3 separate regions of the Homo sapiens genome follow, and all the other regions are linked to region 1. The links are contacts of gene promoters, found by promoter capture Hi-C in human tissues and cell types (Jung and others, 2019). All regions are on one chromosome and are shown on one strand. Each heading gives the region's core, a stretch centred on a gene start or on the middle of the fragment in contact. The rest is flanking DNA. Distances are from core to core; before and after follow the strand shown.

Region 1 (3,030 bases), core at 441-2,940:
TATGGCCTACAATATGGTTTATTTTGATAAGTGCTCTGTGAAAACTTGAAAATAATGTGTATTCTGTTGTTATGAGTAGTTTTCTATAAATGTCTATTTGATTTAGTTGGTTGTGTTTAAGTCTTCTATATACTTACTATTTTCCTGTCTAATTGTTCTGTCAATTATCAAAAGAAGGATTTGAAATCTCCAAATATAATTGGAAGTTGTGGTTCTGTCAGTCTTTGCTCCATGTATTTTAAGCTTCTGTTAATGGGAACAAAGATGTTTAGGGTTGTTATGTCCTACTGATGAACTGACCCCTTTATAATAATAATAATAATAATAATAATAATAATAATAATTCTCTTGGCCAGATGTGGGTGGCTCACATCTGTAATCCCAGCACTTTGGGAGGCTGAGTCAGGAGGATTGCTTAAAGCCAGGAGTTTGAGACTAGCCTGGGCAACAAAGTGAGACTTCAACTCTACACAAAATAAAAAAAGTCGAGTGTGGTCGAGCGTGTGTGGTCCCAGCTACTTGGGAGGCTGAGGCAGGAGGATCCCTTGAGCCCAGGAGTTAGAGGCTGCAGTGAGCTACGATTGCACCATGGCATTCCAGCCTAAGTGACAGACTGAGACCCTGTCTCTGGAAAAGAAACCCGATCCTCTTCATCCTTAGTGATATTCTTTTCCCTGCAATTAATTTTCTTTGGAATTTCCTTGCCCTAAAATCTATTTGTCTACTCAGTTTTCTTTTGTGTGAGCATGGTATGATGGTGTATCTGGTATATCTTTTTGTTATTGTTTTACTGCCACTGGGGTAATCACAGGACTCACCTGGTTTTGTCTCCTGTCTCTCAAGGATTACTGTCCTTTGCCTGAGGTCCAGCGTCGCCAGCCTGGGCGACAGAGCGAGAGCCCGTCTCAGAAAAACCCCCAAGTCCCCCACCTCAGTTCAAAGACCTCTCCTTTTTCCTCCGCTGTCACGGTACAGGAAACAATGTGTAGTTTCCACTACCTGGAAGACTCGACTTGCTCTCCGAGAACCAGTTCCCCGACAGGGTTCCTAGAGCGCAGGCTGCACGGCACAGCCCCAACATTCCCTGCTGCTTGTGAATCTTCGCATCGCCCTCCCAGGGGTCAGGAATGTGTGCTTCGGTGTCTCCAGAGCCTAGCACCACCCCATGACTCAGCTGGCGCTCGGAGGGTCCTTCCATCTGCCGCCGCTGGGGCCTTCGCTACTTCCCCCTCGCTCCTACTGGCTGGCCCACCCGGCTGCCCAGGCTCGGAAGCCCAGGATCCCAGTCACGCGTCTCCCCTTAGTCCCCGCCTCCAGCCACGCCCCCCACACCCCTCCGTCGGCCCCGCCTCCAGCTCCTGCTCGCTCTCCTAGTCCTTCCTCGGCCCCACCTCCAGCCACGCCCCCCACGTGCGCCATCAGCCCCGCCCCCAGCTCTCGCTCGCCCTCCCGAGTCCTCCCTCGGCCCGGTCCCCGCCTCTAGCTCCCCCTTGCCCTCCAGGGTCCTTCTCGGCCCCGCCTCCTGCCGCGCCCCCAACGCTGCTCCGTCGGCCCCCGCCTCCGGTCCCGCCCCCATGCTCCTCCCATTTGGTCCTGTCTTCTGCACTGGCGGAGGTCGCGGCGGGCCTCGGAGAGGAGACGCCGACGTCAGCGCGCCGGGGCGGGGCTGGCGGCAGGAGACGCCGCGTTGAGAGCTTGGGCTCCTCCGTGAGCCGCCGGCGCGCTTCGCTGCCTGGCGGCCTTTCCCCGAGCCGAGCCCGCTTCCCGAGGCCGCCAGTCGTCGCCTGCCCGCGCCTGCGCAGCGTCCCGGGCCGAGAGGGCCACGGCGGCGGCCATGGCGCACCGCTGTTTGCGGCTGTGGGGCCGGGGCGGCTGCTGGCCCCGCGGCCTACAGCAGCTCCTCGTGCCTGGCGGCGTGGGCCCGGGCGAGCAGCCCTGCCTCCGGACGGTGAGTCCTACCTGGGCGCCCGGCGCCCTCCACCCTGCCTCGGGCCCACTTCCGGCTCGGGAGAGCGGACGTCAAGGTCACTGGCCCCCGCCCTCCGGCCGCACGCGGGCCGTCCCTGCCGAGGGCCTGGGCGCCCTGCGCTGTCTCTCAGCCGGCCCCGGGAGCGCCGATTCGCGCTCAGCCCTGCCTGTGGGATTCAAGTTTTGAAAACGCGCAGCTTCAGTAGAGCCGGGTTTTCGCGCTTCACCGGGGCGGTTGAAGCCTCGAAGGTCATGTTGGCTTGGTGGCCGTCCTTGTCCCCGCTTTCGTGTCCCCGGAGCACGGAACGAAGGCGTCTGTAATTTTGAGTCAGCAGCACGAGCACGATGTAGTCGCAAGGACGGGTTTTGGAGTCGGGCTGCCTAACCTCTCCGAGTCTCCGTGTTCCCGTCTGTTGAATGGGGCCATTGCGGGCATTCCAGGACTGGCAGTATTAGCTATTATTATTAAGAATGTCACCTTTTCATAGCAGGGACTCTGTGTTCGTTGCATATCAGGGCCTGCTCTCAGCAGGAGGCTCTTTCTCTGTTGGTAGCCATCCCTCTAGATACACACACGGGACCTGATACGTGTTTCTGACATAATGATAGAGTGTTGACAGAACCATGGCCGTGATCAGTCTCAATGAAAGGTTCACGTGTCGAATAGTCGCTCTCACTGTTTAAGTGACACGGTTCCTCAGCCTTGCACTGGTGTACGGGTGGTGGTTGAGGTCCCCGGGTCGGCCACGGGAACCTGGCTTGGCCTCCTGCTATCCCAGCGCCCTTGTAGTCAGCTCAACGTCTTCACTGTAAGGGGAGATAGGCTAGTGCCGGGGCTCACGCCTGCGATCCCAGCACTTAGGGAGGCCGAGGCGGGAGAATCGCTTGACTCCAGGAGTTGGAAACCAGCTTGGGTAGGGTAGCAGACCCTCCGATCTACGATTTTTATTTTTATTTTTATTTTTTAAGAGACGGGGTTTTGCTTCTTCGCCCAGGCCGGAGTGCAGCGGCGCAAACACAGCTCACTGCAGCCCCAAACTCAAGCGATCCTCCCGCCTCAGC
Region 2 (3,098 bases), core at 368-2,867, 1.0 Mb before region 1:
GGCTGGGACCCTCCGGGCTGGTTTTCCCACCACCCCACTAGAAGAGTTGAGATGATGATTACAAGTGGTGAGCCTGCTGCACTTACACTTCCCACAAAGTCCTATCCAGCAAAGGCCTTCAGAGGTCATTGACTTAAATGCCCTCAGGCTACAGAGAGAGAGCAAGCGCTGCCCCATGGAGGCGCAAGAACTGCGCCCAACACTGGCAGCAGGAGAGCAGGACTGACCCTGGGCCTCTTGCCCTGAAGGCACTGCTTCCCATGCTACTCCTGAGGCCCAGGAAGCTCCCTAAACCCAAGTAGCTTAAATCAAGAGAGAAGGAGAGGGGGGAATACAGGAAGAGGCAACTTACCCAGGACGCAAGGTCACAGTCAAGATCCCCCCCAAGGCAGCAAGCACATGGTCATCATTCTACACACACACGCACACACATGCACACACGCACACACACGCACACACACACGCACACACACATGGAGGTTCTATTTATACTGGGAAGATGGGCAGGACTAACCAGGAAATAAATTAATTCAATATTGCACTTGAAAAATGTCATTAAGTCCCTCCCATAACAGAGCAACAGTTACTAAGGAAATAGAGCACGTCAAATGGAAAAACACCCCCACAGGAAGGGACATTTTAAAAACATGAACACTCACAAACCTAACCAAGTAAGTTACAGGGTATGTCTGCCTTACCAGTTATTCACAAAAACTTATATGAAACGCAGTCCTCCTCAGAGTCATTCAGGAATACAAACTGAACTGTGTCCGTATTATATCTTTCATTAAAAGACACTGTAAAAACAGATACATGGGGTTCAGGAAATGTGAGGGTCACACAGGGGCACGGAGGCCAAAATCCAATGGAGAAGTGAAACAGCCTTTTTTCCAAAATCAAAGTAGCACTCAAAAAACCGTAGTGCATAAAGAATTGACGCTGCAGTTTCATTTTTTATTTCCTCCTGCTGTGGACAGACTGTTTCGCTGGCGGAATGTCGGTTACCTAGGTGACAGCTCCACAGCCATGGCGACTGCTCCAGGCCCCACAGACGCTCAGGGCCGAGCCCCGGCCTGTGGATGCCGATCCCTGGCCACTCTACCCACCAGAGAAGTTCCAGGGAGAAAGGAACGCTGCCAACCAAAGAGGTCATTCTAAACCTCGGCAAACTGGGGCTCTGCTGCAAAATTTAAAAAAAATAAAAATGACCATGTTTGAGAGCTGCACGGCACAGCTCACCTATGCATCATCTCACCCTATGTTCATTTAGGATCAAAGAGGCAAAGGGCTTGTCATGAGACAGATGGGAGAAAAAGTGGGGAAAAGACCCTTGAGAAGCTATTTCCAACTTGAGCTGGGACCAGGTGTCCCACCAAGGGAGATGTCACACGTCTCCATGTGAGTGCCTCAGAGCTCATGGATAGTGCAGACCTTGGCAACGGCCAGTCAGTCTCAAGATCTCCTAACAGTAAAGAAAAGGAGGTGCTACAAATAAAACACCTCTGCCTCCAGGCAGCCAGCCGTAGGCAGAGAGCCCCAGGTAGGGGACCCACTCTGCTTCTGGTACCCGTGGTGACTCCCGGCCCTGGCTCCCATCTCCTCTTTTATACAATGAGGAGGTGAAACTGGAGGTCCCTCCCATTCCAAAAAGTCCCCTATGGCCATGTCTCTGGCCGAGAGAGAGGGCAAATGGGCATAAAAAAGGATACAGTGGGCGGGCACGGTGCCTCACGCCTGTAACCCCAGTGCTTTGGGAGGCTGTGGCAGGAGGATTGCTTGAGCCCAGGTGTTTGAAACCCACCTAGCCAACATAGAAAGTCCCCATATCTACTAAAAATATAAAAATTAGCTGGGCATGGCTGTGCACACCTATACTGGGGAGGCTGAGGCAGGAGGACTGCTTGAGCCCATGAGTTCAAAGCTGCTGTGAGCTGTGACTGCACCACTGCACTCCAGCCTGGGCAACATAGCAAGACCCTGTCTCTTCAAAAAAAAAAAAAAAACTAAAGAGAAACAAAAGAAAGGGACACAGTGCAGAAGCACAGAAAATCCACATGGAAATGCAAATCTGAGAGCAAGTCAGAGAAACAGGCTGCCTATAGCCAGGGAAGACTGAGTTGGAGTGTGATGAATTTTTCATGCTACTTTTCATCTCTGTGATGTGGGGGGGCAAAATAACATGTAGCTTTTGTAACACAACCTCCAAGCCATCCTCACCCTGGGTAGCTCAGTGGGATCTGGTTACTTGTTCAGCATAATGTAGTTCAGGGTAGCGTAGTGCCTTGCTGTAGGTCACCAATTCAGGAAGCAAGTACAAAACCCAAAACATCGATTCAAAGACACACACAGGCTGCAAACAGGAAAAGCAATAATTATATTAGAACATTCTTTAAAATGTCACCTTGACAAATCCAACACTTGATAAATCCTGAGGCTATATTCAAACCAAGTTGGAGAGAGTTCCCCCTAAAATAAACAGGATAACTGTCCTTAATGCATTAGTAAGTCTATAATTATCGACTCATATGATCTAGCAGCAGAGGAAGCCGCAAGGAGTCATATATCCGACCCCTGTGCTTTGTGGAGGAGGCGATCCAGAGGCTCAGGGAGAGGGGACAGGTTGAAGATGAGTGTGGGAGGAATGCAAGCCAGGGCTGGAACCAGGTGTCTGGATCCTGGCCCAAGCTTCCAGTTCCACTGTCTACACACAGCGGCCACAGGAGACACTGGCTCAGGAGGGAGAGCCTGCAATGCTAGGAAGACAGCCGTGCACACCTGCACCAGCCGCTCGCTGGGAATCAGGGAATACTGGGAAGATCTCTGCTTTCCAGGGCCCGAACCAGGCCATTCCCACAGCACCCACATGCACAAGGGAATGGGAAAGGGTCAGGGCTTGGCCCAGGGGCAGATGATCCCTGAGCAGACGTGCATTCTGGTCTGAGCCCGGTCTGAGCACATCACAGACACCTCCACTGTGGCCACCAGCCAAGCAGCGGCAATGCCCCTCCCAACCCAGCCCCACCCCCGTAGAGGTTCTGCTCCCACTGTGGCCTGGCGTGAGGGCTCGGGCTGACGGGCAGGGGGCTGGCGGGCAGGGG
Region 3 (3,449 bases), core at 3-2,502, 1.0 Mb after region 1:
ACTACTTTTCATCTGTGCAGGGAAAGCTCAGTGGCAGGAACTCTGCCGGGTGGGAGAAGACGGGAGGGGAGGACAGAGGCAGCCTGGTCTTTGCCCACTCACATTTTTGTCTGGGCCTCGCTTCATTTCATCTGTTAAATTTGATCTACTCAATAACAAACTGAACAGAGAACCAACAGGCAAACTTAAATAAAATATAAAGCAGAGGATGTAATATAAAGTTAAATTTCAGTCATGAAAAGTTCTTTTTATTTTGGTATGGAGTATTATACATTATAAAGAGAGAGAGCAACACAAAGCACAAATAGGAGAGTTTAACACACCTTTTTCTCAGTCCTTCATGATCAAATATATAATAAGTACCTCTACAGAATATTTGAATGAGATAAGGTTTATCAAGTATCTAAAATACATTTAAATGTACACCTTATAAACAGACACTGAACTGATAACAACTAGTAATATATTATATTACAAACAAACAGAAAATAAGAGTAAAAATTACGTATCTCTGGCTATGAAATAATATTATAAATACCAACTGTAAAAACAAAATAGTAAAATCCCACTCATTTTGAAATTATAAAAACGGCTTAAAAACAACCTTAGGACCAAAAAGGAAGTCAAGTCTGAAATTGCAGAATATTTTGAAAATAATGATAGTAGGAGCATTCCAAATGAAAATTCATGACTTACTGCCAAACCTTATTTCTCAGAGGAAAATCTAATTTAAAATAAAACTTAGCTTGTAAAAAAGTAGTGGAAAACAAACCTAGGAAAAGCAGAAGGGAAAAATTAATAAAGTTGTATATTGTAAGTAAAAAAAAAGATAGAATTGATACATATATTAAGGGCTATACATTTAAGTGAAAAATAAATAATAATTCTAATAAAATTCAATAGATAGCTAAATCAAGAGGTAAGTAGGAAGAGATTAAGAAGGCCAAATTAGAAATGAGAAGAGAAAAAGAACCAGATTTGAGAAAAATAAAATATTTATAAAAGAATACCTCAATCAGTACTAGACAAGATTAAATCTAGGATAAAATGAAAGTATAACCACACAACTGATGAAACTGACAGAGAGAGACCAAAAGATTTACTCATTTTCAAAACTTTTGTAAGAAAGTTTTTCCAAACTTAGAAGAAACAGATGAATTTTTCTGTTACTTTGATTGTTCAAGAGTTTGTTGATTACTCTTAGCACACCTAAATAAAAGCTTTACTAAAACCAGATAAAGGTAGTATACAACAGGAAGACTATAGATCAGTATCACTTATAAATATTGATGGCAGATAAATAAAACATTAAGAAATGGATCTGGCAGTACAATGAAAGAATACATAAGGATAGTAATGGACTATAACTCATTGGTGGTAAAAGGAACTCATGTGTTCATGGAACACAAGGACGGGGCAAGGAAGGAAGAAAAGCAAGAGGGAGGAGCTAAGAAGAGGCAAAAGCTCTTCCCTATAGTAAAATGCCAACCAATAAATATACAAAAGAAATGACAGAGTTTGAAATACTATGTTGCAACCAGCATAGTAATATTTGATACAGGCAAAAATCATTAAGAGATTCTAAAATTTATGGGTAAAATTTAGATAAGAAAAAGATACTTTGTAATCTTGGGTATTGGCCCACCTCTACAGATTACTTATTAATTACAAAAAAGAAAATGTTAATTTAACCTCTTAGGCATCATGGTATCTAGGTTCACATGACCAAAAATGGATAGACTGACATCCGATGTCTCCTGATAGGTGGGATGCGCTGAAAGGACACAGCGTCAATTCTACCGTATTCCTGCTAAAAATGCATAAGCTGAGTCTAATCATTAGGAAACAGAAAGACTAGATTTGAGGGGCAATCTGTAAGCTATTGACCTGTATTACTCAAAATTTCACTGTCATGAAAGAAAAATAAATCCGGAGAAACGTGTCCACATTAAAACAGGCTAAAGGGACAAGACAACTAAATTGAATGCACCAGATTGGGTTGGATCCTGGATCAGAGGAATAAAAGCTGTAAAAAACATTGTGGGGACAATGGCAAAATTTAAATGGAGACTGTCGTTTAAATAATAGCATTGAGTCAATATTAACAATTTCCTAATTTGATAATTGTCCCTGTGATTGTGTAAGAGAATAATCTGGTTTTTAGTACATAGATGTTGAAGCATTTAGAGGAATAGGTTAATGATACCTGCAACTTCCTCTCTAATAGTTTAGTAAATATAACTCTAAGCAGCAGGGAATGAATATAGTAAGAGGTTAACAGTTGATAAATTTAAAGAATATAGAAAAACTCATTTTTATGTGAATTTTATAACTATAAAATTATAAAGTTTTAACTTTAATGTCTTATTTTTCAGAAATAATTTGTTAAAAAATAAAAATTATTAATCATTCTAAGAAGTTGAAGATGGTTCAATATTAGGACTGACTAAAATAATTCACAGTATTAAGGGTTCCAAAGAAGACACTGTATGTTCATCTCTACAGTTTGCAAAGTTACATTTCACAAAAATTTCACAAGTATTTGGCCGGATGCAGTGGCTCACGCCTGTAATCCCAGCACTTTGGGAGGCCGAGATGGGCGGATCACGAGGTCAAGAGATCGAGACCATCCTGGCTAACACGGTGAAACCCCGTCTCTACTAAAAATACAAAAAAATTAGCCGGGCGTGGTGGCGGGCGCCTGTACTGCCAGCTACTCGGGAGGCTGAGACAGGAGAATGGCGTGAACCCAGGAGGCGGAGCTTGCGGTGAGCCGAGATGGCGCCATTGCACTCCAGCCTGGGCGACTGAGCGGGACTTCGTCTCAAAAAAAAAAAAAAATTTCACAAGTATTTTTAATCTAAAAAATAATCACTGTATATTTATATATACATATATATTTATATATACACATAATATTTATTTGGATCAATTGATCCAACAGCTAAAAGTTAGAAATAATCTATGCCCATCAATGGATGAATGCATAAGCAAAATATGATATATCTATACAATGGAATATTACTCAGCCTTATAAAGGAGGTTCTAACATGCTACCACATGGAAGAACCCTGAGTGCATTGCAGGGAGGTAAAATATCTTTTCCTTCTTCCGTTGTGAGTTCTTGCTGGGGGAGCCTTCTAACAGCAGCAACAACTCATTCAGGTTCCTCAGTGTCCCCGCCGAAATCTCACATCGAATTGCAAGTCCCATGTGTCAGGGGAGGGCCCTGGTGGGAGGTGGTTGGATCATGGGGGTGGGTTTCCCCCTTGCTGTTCTTGTGATAGTGAGTGAGTTCTCCCCAAGATCTGATGGTTTAAAAGTGTGGCACTTCCCCCTTCACGCTCTCTCTCTTTTGCTTCGCTGTGATAAGACGTGCTTGCTTCCCTTTTGCCTTCTGGCATGATTCTAAGTTTCCTGAGGCCTCCCCAGCCATGTGGAGCTGTGAA

Evidence for each region. The method cuts DNA at HindIII sites, captures the fragments that hold promoters and counts their contacts. A contact is called where the count stands out against the background at its distance.
Region 2: a fragment that was not itself captured here is called in contact with the fragment with the promoter of AFG3L2 in region 1 in 1 of the 25 tissues and cell types used here (dorsolateral prefrontal cortex).
Region 3: a contact is called between a fragment that was not itself captured here and the fragment with the promoter of AFG3L2 in region 1, in 1 of the 25 tissues and cell types used here (lymphoblastoid cells).

The regions. Positions count from the first base shown.
Region 1 is chr18:12,375,887-12,378,916 of GRCh38, reverse strand. It overlaps AFG3L2 (AFG3 like matrix AAA peptidase subunit 2), which reads left to right and starts at 1,690. Exons shown (of 17, transcript NM_006796.3): 1 at 1,690-1,948. The coding sequence starts at 1,835. RefSeq lists enhancers at 392-921, 922-1,453 and a silencer at 1,226-2,125. The HindIII fragment of the contact is 16,096 bases long and covers 1-3,030 here.
Region 2 is chr18:13,379,982-13,383,079 of GRCh38, reverse strand. The region is part of intron 2 of LDLRAD4 (low density lipoprotein receptor class A domain containing 4); the gene reads right to left. Among named protein-coding and RNA genes, the nearest start is that of LDLRAD4-AS1, 46 kb to the left of the region's middle. RefSeq lists enhancers at 947-1,571, 2,263-2,762, 2,763-3,098. The HindIII fragment of the contact is 4,118 bases long and covers 1-3,098 here.
Region 3 is chr18:11,369,614-11,373,062 of GRCh38, reverse strand. The region is part of intron 1 of LOC107985173 (a long non-coding RNA gene); the gene reads left to right. Among named protein-coding and RNA genes, the nearest start is that of LINC01928, 83 kb to the left of the region's middle. The HindIII fragment of the contact is 4,274 bases long and covers 1-3,389 here.